Linked DNA regions of Homo sapiens: region 1 is linked to region 2. Evidence: promoter capture Hi-C in 16 types of primary human blood cells and fetal thymus (Javierre and others, 2016). All regions are on one chromosome and are shown on one strand. Each heading gives the region's core, a stretch centred on a gene start or on the middle of the fragment in contact. The rest is flanking DNA. Distances are from core to core; before and after follow the strand shown.

Region 1 (2,794 bases), core at 205-2,704, 180 kb before region 2:
ATAGCTAGGACTAGAGGTGCCCACCAGCATGCTCAGCAGATTTTTAAATCTTTTTGTAGAGATGAGGTTTTGCTATGTTGCCCAGGCTGGTCTCGAACTCCTGGCCTCGAGCGATCCTCCCACCTTGGCCTCCCAAAGCACTGGGATTACAGACGTGAGCCACTGCGCCCAGCAGATTTCTCTTTAACACCTAGATTTCAGCCTGAGCCAGGCAGGCATTCCTGAATGAACCAGTAGTACTGCTCCCAGAAGAAGAGGTCCTCCTCCGTGTGACACAGTCCCCACTTGGCCCTTGCAGGGATTGGATCTGGGATCCCTGGATTTAAACTCAGGGCCATCCTCATAACAGCCTCACAAGGCTGGGATTAGCTTCCCAGTTCACAAGGGAAGAAACCAAGACTTGAGAAGGTCAAGGTCTGGCCAGACCCACACATCTTGGACCCTCATACCGCCTCGAGGCCCCATGCTGCCCTCTGCCTGCTCCAGATGTGAATACTGCTGGCCCTGGCTGGCCCCGGCTGGCCCCGAGGGTCCTAGGGATGAACAGCCCAGCCCAGGGAGAGCTCAGCCCCTTGTGCCTCTGCCCCTTCCCACCTCCTGCGGAGGCCAGTCGACTCACCCACAAAGGGCCAGGCACTGTGGGGATAGATCAGCTAACAAAACAGTTGATGCTTCCTGCCCTTCTGGGCCTTACATTTTGGCTGGAAGAAGAGGGGAGAGGCAGACTGTAAGCAATAAGCGCAATAAGTAGGTTGCCTGGAAGTAATGTTAGATCACGTTACGGAAAACAGGAAAGAGCAGAGCGACAAGTGCTGGGGTGCGTGGTGCAGGGAAGGCAGCTGGCTGCTGCTGGTGTGGTCAGAGTGGGCCCTCATGGAGAAGACTGCATTCGAGCAGAAACTTGAAGGGGGTGAGGGGTGAGCCTAGAGATATCTGGGGCAGAGCAGTCCAGGCAGAGGGGACAGCCGGTGTCAAGCCCAGGACAGGAGTGTGCCTGGTGTGCCAGTTTCAGGCAAGAGGCCAGTGTGCAGAGGCAAGGTGAGAACGCAAGGGAGAGCAGTGGCGGAGACGGTTGGGAACGAGGTCAGACCTGCTGGCCTCCAGCCTCTGCATGGGGCTTGGCTCTTGCTGGGAGCAATGGGAAGCAGTACACAGTTTCATGCAGGGGGAGAAGGCCTGTCTTGGGTTGCAGGGGCACGCTGTGGCAGCTGGGATCAGAGAGAGGAGCTTGTAGGCCAGTTGTTATGTGGTCCCACGGGCCAGATGGCCATGGCTTACCTCACTTCAGGGAGGCTGTGAGAAGCACTCAGAATCTGGATGTGCCTTGGGGGTGGGCCCCACTGGATTTCCTGGTGGACCTGGTGTGGGGTGTGAGAGGAGGGTGTGTTTGGCTGCAGCAGACAGGAGAATGGAGTTGCCATCCGCGTGATGGGGATGGCTGTGGGAGGAGAGGTTTGGGGTGAGGGAATCAGGAACTGAGTGCTGGACATGGCAAGTCTGAAGGCGCAGTGGTCGTCCACTCAGAGACCTTGGAGTTGGAGATGGAGGTGTGGGAGTCCTGAACAGTTAGATGTAGTGTTTACCGCGAGAAGGAACAGGGCTTGCGGCCAGCCCTCCTGTGTTCCCGTGACCCAGGGCAGGGCAGGAGGGGCCTGAGCCTGCCGAGTGACTGGGACCTCCTTCCAGGAGATCATGCACGCCCTGAAGATGACCTGGCACGTGCACTGCTTTACCTGTGCTGCCTGCAAGACGCCCATCCGGAACAGGGCCTTCTACATGGAGGAGGGCGTGCCCTATTGCGAGCGAGGTACCCACTGGCCAGTGAGGGTGAGGAGGGATGGTGCATGGGGCAGGCATGAATCCAGGTCCTCTTTCTCTCTGCCCCCATTCTCAGACTATGAGAAGATGTTTGGCACGAAATGCCATGGCTGTGACTTCAAGATCGACGCTGGGGACCGCTTCCTGGAGGCCCTGGGCTTCAGCTGGCATGACACCTGCTTCGTCTGTGCGGTGAGAGCCCCGCCCCTCGAACTGAGCCCCAAGCCCACCGGCCCTCTGTTCATTCCCCAGGAGATGCAGGAGAAGTTGGGAAGGGGCCTCTCCTGCTGCCCCCAACCCCATGTGACTGGGCCTTTGCTGTCCTTAGATATGTCAGATCAACCTGGAAGGAAAGACCTTCTACTCCAAGAAGGACAGGCCTCTCTGCAAGAGCCATGCCTTCTCTCATGTGTGAGCCCCTTCTGCCCACAGCTGCCGCGGTGGCCCCTAGCCTGAGGGGCCTGGAGTCGTGGCCCTGCATTTCTGGGTAGGGCTGGCAATGGTTGCCTTAACCCTGGCTCCTGGCCCGAGCCTGGGGCTCCCTGGGCCCTGCCCCACCCACCTTATCCTCCCACCCCACTCCCTCCACCACCACAGCACACCGGTGCTGGCCACACCAGCCCCCTTTCACCTCCAGTGCCACAATAAACCTGTACCCAGCTGTGTCTTGTGTGCCCTTCCCCTGTGCATCCGGAGGGGCAGAATTTGAGGCACGTGGCAGGGTGGAGAGTAAGATGGTTTTCTTGGGCTGGCCATCTGGGTGGTCCTCGTGATGCAGACATGGCGGGCTCATGGTTAGTGGAGGAGGTACAGGCGAGACCCCATGTGCCAGGCCCGGTGCCCACAGACATGAGGGGAGCCACTGGTCTGGCCTGGCTTGGAGGTTAGAGAAGGGTAGTTAGGAAGGGTAGTTAGCATGGTGGCTCATGCCTGTGATCCCAGCACTTTGGAAGGCCAAGGTGGGCAGATCGCTTGA
Region 2 (2,700 bases), core at 1-2,500:
CCTGCCTCCGGCCACAAAAGCTGCCTTATGGCTCTCTAGCCACATGTATCTGAGGAGCTCTCTATCTCGGGGGGAGGGGAGAGGGGGAGGTGCAGAATCACAACAGGAGGTGTCTCACCATCAGCCGGGCGTGGTTGATGTTCCAGGTGAAGGTAGTCATGGTCTGATTCTGTGGGTCCACAATAGAGTCCTCCAGGACGTACACCGAGTGAGCAACATTGGCAGGAAATAGTCGCTCGGCCCAGCGTGGCATCCTGTTGGTCTTGGTCAGGAGTCGCCGGGACAGCAGTTTCTGGTCAGGGGTCACCTCCCGGTGTACTATGTCTTCCGTCAAGACATGTTTGCTGCAGGTGTCAGGGTGAAGGTGACCCTCAGAAGCTTGCCCCTAAGAGACTGCCCGAGGGGATTCCCATTTGGAGGCTCCGGGCCTAGAGAGGCCACGCCTTCCCGTAACCTTGCAGGGTGGTATGTGCTATGGTTCAAACCAGAGTTAAGGGCCCATCCCAGGGCAAATTCCCACTCCCGCCATCTGACTGACCTGGATTCCTGCCTTCTAGCAGGAATGGACCTCATGATTTATTGCACCCCAGGAAAGCGCCACGGGCAGAGAAATAGGATTTCCAACTCCAAGATCCCTCCCAACTCCCATACTGCCGCCTCTTCTTGTCTCACCACACTGAGAAAAGAATCTTACACTAAGGTCTCAAGTAAACCACCACCCAGGCCCAACCTCCCTTCAGGACCTTGCAGGCCTGGCCTGGCCGCTTCCCCGATAAGGTCTACCTAGGATTCGATATCGAGTCCTTCCTGGTCCCAGTACTTGGGGGTTACCCATAATTCGATCTCCAGATAGCGAGATGGCGCGGTTTTGCTCTTCCAAATACCACGTACCTATAGGGATTCGGGTACCGCTGCCAGAAGGCGGCGAACACTTGGTCCCAGGAACTCCGGAGCACGCTCTGGCCCAGGAAATACTTCACCATCGTCCCGGCCGAAGCGGGCTCAGCACCCGCGCAGCATCAGGGGTGCGGAGCCTGGGAGGCACGCGAGGGCCGGGCCGGGCCGGGGCTCGGCGCACACCCGCCGCCAGGCTCGTAGCTCAGTCACCACCGCACCGCGCCCAAGCAGCTGCCGCCGCCGCCGCCGCCGCCATGAGTTGTCCGGCCGCGCGCCACTTCCGGCGCAGCCACACAGTAGCCACCGCTTCCGGCGCCCGCGCCACGTGACCTTGCGGCCCCGCCCCCTCGCCCTCTAGCCCCCTCCCGCGGGAGTCGCGGCGCTGCGGGTAGGAGCCGGGTTGCGGGAGACCCCAGGTTCGGTTGGGATTCCCAGCCAGAACGGAGCTTAAGCCGGGCAGGCGAGCGAATGACGGAGTAGCGAGCTGCACGGCGGCGTGCTGCGCTGTTGAGGACGCTGTCCCGCGCGCTCCCAGGCCGCCCCGAGGCTTGGGGTCTTCGAAGGATAATCGGCGCCCGGGGCCGAACAGCGGGGGCACACGGGGCGCTGCCGAAGTGCAAGGCCACGGCCAGAGCTCGAGCCCGACGCGCTGTCTGGAGTCGTAGGTTGGCGCCGTTTGGGGTCGGGGTCTGAGGCTTGGGCGCTGCCTGGGCCGAGCGGAGATCGGGGTTTGCCTCCCGTCCCCGCTCAGGACCCTGACGTGGCTGAAGCGGCCCCGGGAGCATGAGCGGGCAGCGCGTGGACGTCAAGGTGGTGATGCTGGGCAAGGAGTACGTGGGCAAGACTAGCCTGGTGGAGCGCTACGTGCACGACCGCTTTCTGGTGGGGCCTTATCAGAACGTGAGTGCATCCGGAGGGGCCAGGCACGGTGGGCGGGGGAGTGGGGGGCCGGTAATCTGCACCTATGGCCCCGATCTCTTCCCTCTCGTTGCAGACCATCGGGGCCGCCTTCGTGGCCAAGGTGATGTCGGTCGGAGACCGGACTGTGACATTAGGTATTTGGGTAAGTCCCCCGGCCATCTATTCTTGGGAGACTCATTCCTGAGGAGGTGTAGGTCCTGCCTATTACTGGTTGATTTGTGGCCTCACAGACCCATTTCTCATAGACCCGTTTCCTTATCTGGAAAATAGCGGGGTCTGGAGAACGTGGCCTTAAGTTTGACTCAGGCCTTACTCTTTAGGACACAGCAGGCTCTGAGCGCTATGAGGCCATGAGTAGAATCTACTATCGGGGTGCCAAGGCTGCCATCGTCTGCTATGGTAAGGGGGGGGGGGGTTTGGGCTGTCTCACAAGAAAAGATGGGTGCCAGGCTAGCCAGAGAACAGCCCTTGACCACTTGGTTGTCTCCTGCATGCCGCACACCAAGACCTCACAGACAGCAGCAGCTTTGAGCGAGCAAAGTTCTGGGTGAAGGAACTGCGCAGCCTAGAGGAGGTAGGTGAACAGACCTCACTAGAACACTAGGGGCTGGGGTTTTGTTGGCCTGTGGAGGTGACCCTTGTCTTCTGCCTCAGGGCTGCCAAATCTACTTATGTGGCACCAAGAGTGACCTGCTGGAAGAAGACCGGAGGCGTCGACGTGTGGACTTCCACGACGTCCAGGACTATGCAGACAGTAGCTGCTCCTCAGCCCTTTGGGGGGTGGGGGTGTGTGGCTGTCTGGGTGGATCAAAGAAAATAGGGACTGCCTTGGCTGCCAGGGCAAGGTGCTCTAGGAGGTCTTCCTGGCCTCCTTGAACTGTG

Evidence for each region. Contacts are between HindIII fragments. The CHiCAGO score rates a contact against its expected background, and 5 or more counts as called.
Region 1: a fragment that was not itself captured here is called in contact with the fragment with the promoter of RAB24 in region 2 in 2 of 17 cell types (non-activated CD4 T cells and monocytes); the score reaches 6.5 in non-activated CD4 T cells.

Annotation. Positions count from the first base shown.
Region 1 is chr5:177,483,083-177,485,876 of GRCh38, reverse strand. It overlaps PDLIM7 (PDZ and LIM domain 7), which reads left to right. Exons shown (of 13, transcript NM_005451.5): 11 at 1,687-1,807; 12 at 1,895-2,010; 13 at 2,147-2,483. The coding sequence ends at 2,233. Among named protein-coding and RNA genes, the nearest start is that of DBN1, 11 kb to the right of the region's middle. RefSeq lists enhancers at 430-1,145, 1,146-1,861. The HindIII fragment of the contact is 7,991 bases long and covers 1-2,794 here.
Region 2 is chr5:177,302,269-177,304,968 of GRCh38, reverse strand. It overlaps RAB24 (RAB24, member RAS oncogene family), which reads left to right and starts at 1,250. Exons shown (of 8, transcript NM_001031677.4): 1 at 1,250-1,797; 2 at 1,892-1,960; 3 at 2,139-2,217; 4 at 2,325-2,392; 5 at 2,473-2,572. The coding sequence starts at 1,681. PRELID1 (PRELI domain containing 1) reads right to left here and starts at 1,170. Exons shown (of 5, transcript NM_013237.4): 1 at 892-1,170; 2 at 119-344. The coding sequence starts at 983. RefSeq lists enhancers at 40-109, 120-189, 340-399, 420-469, 580-679 and 2 more and silencers at 910-1,049, 1,160-1,239, 1,290-1,359. The HindIII fragment of the contact is 8,255 bases long and covers 381-2,700 here.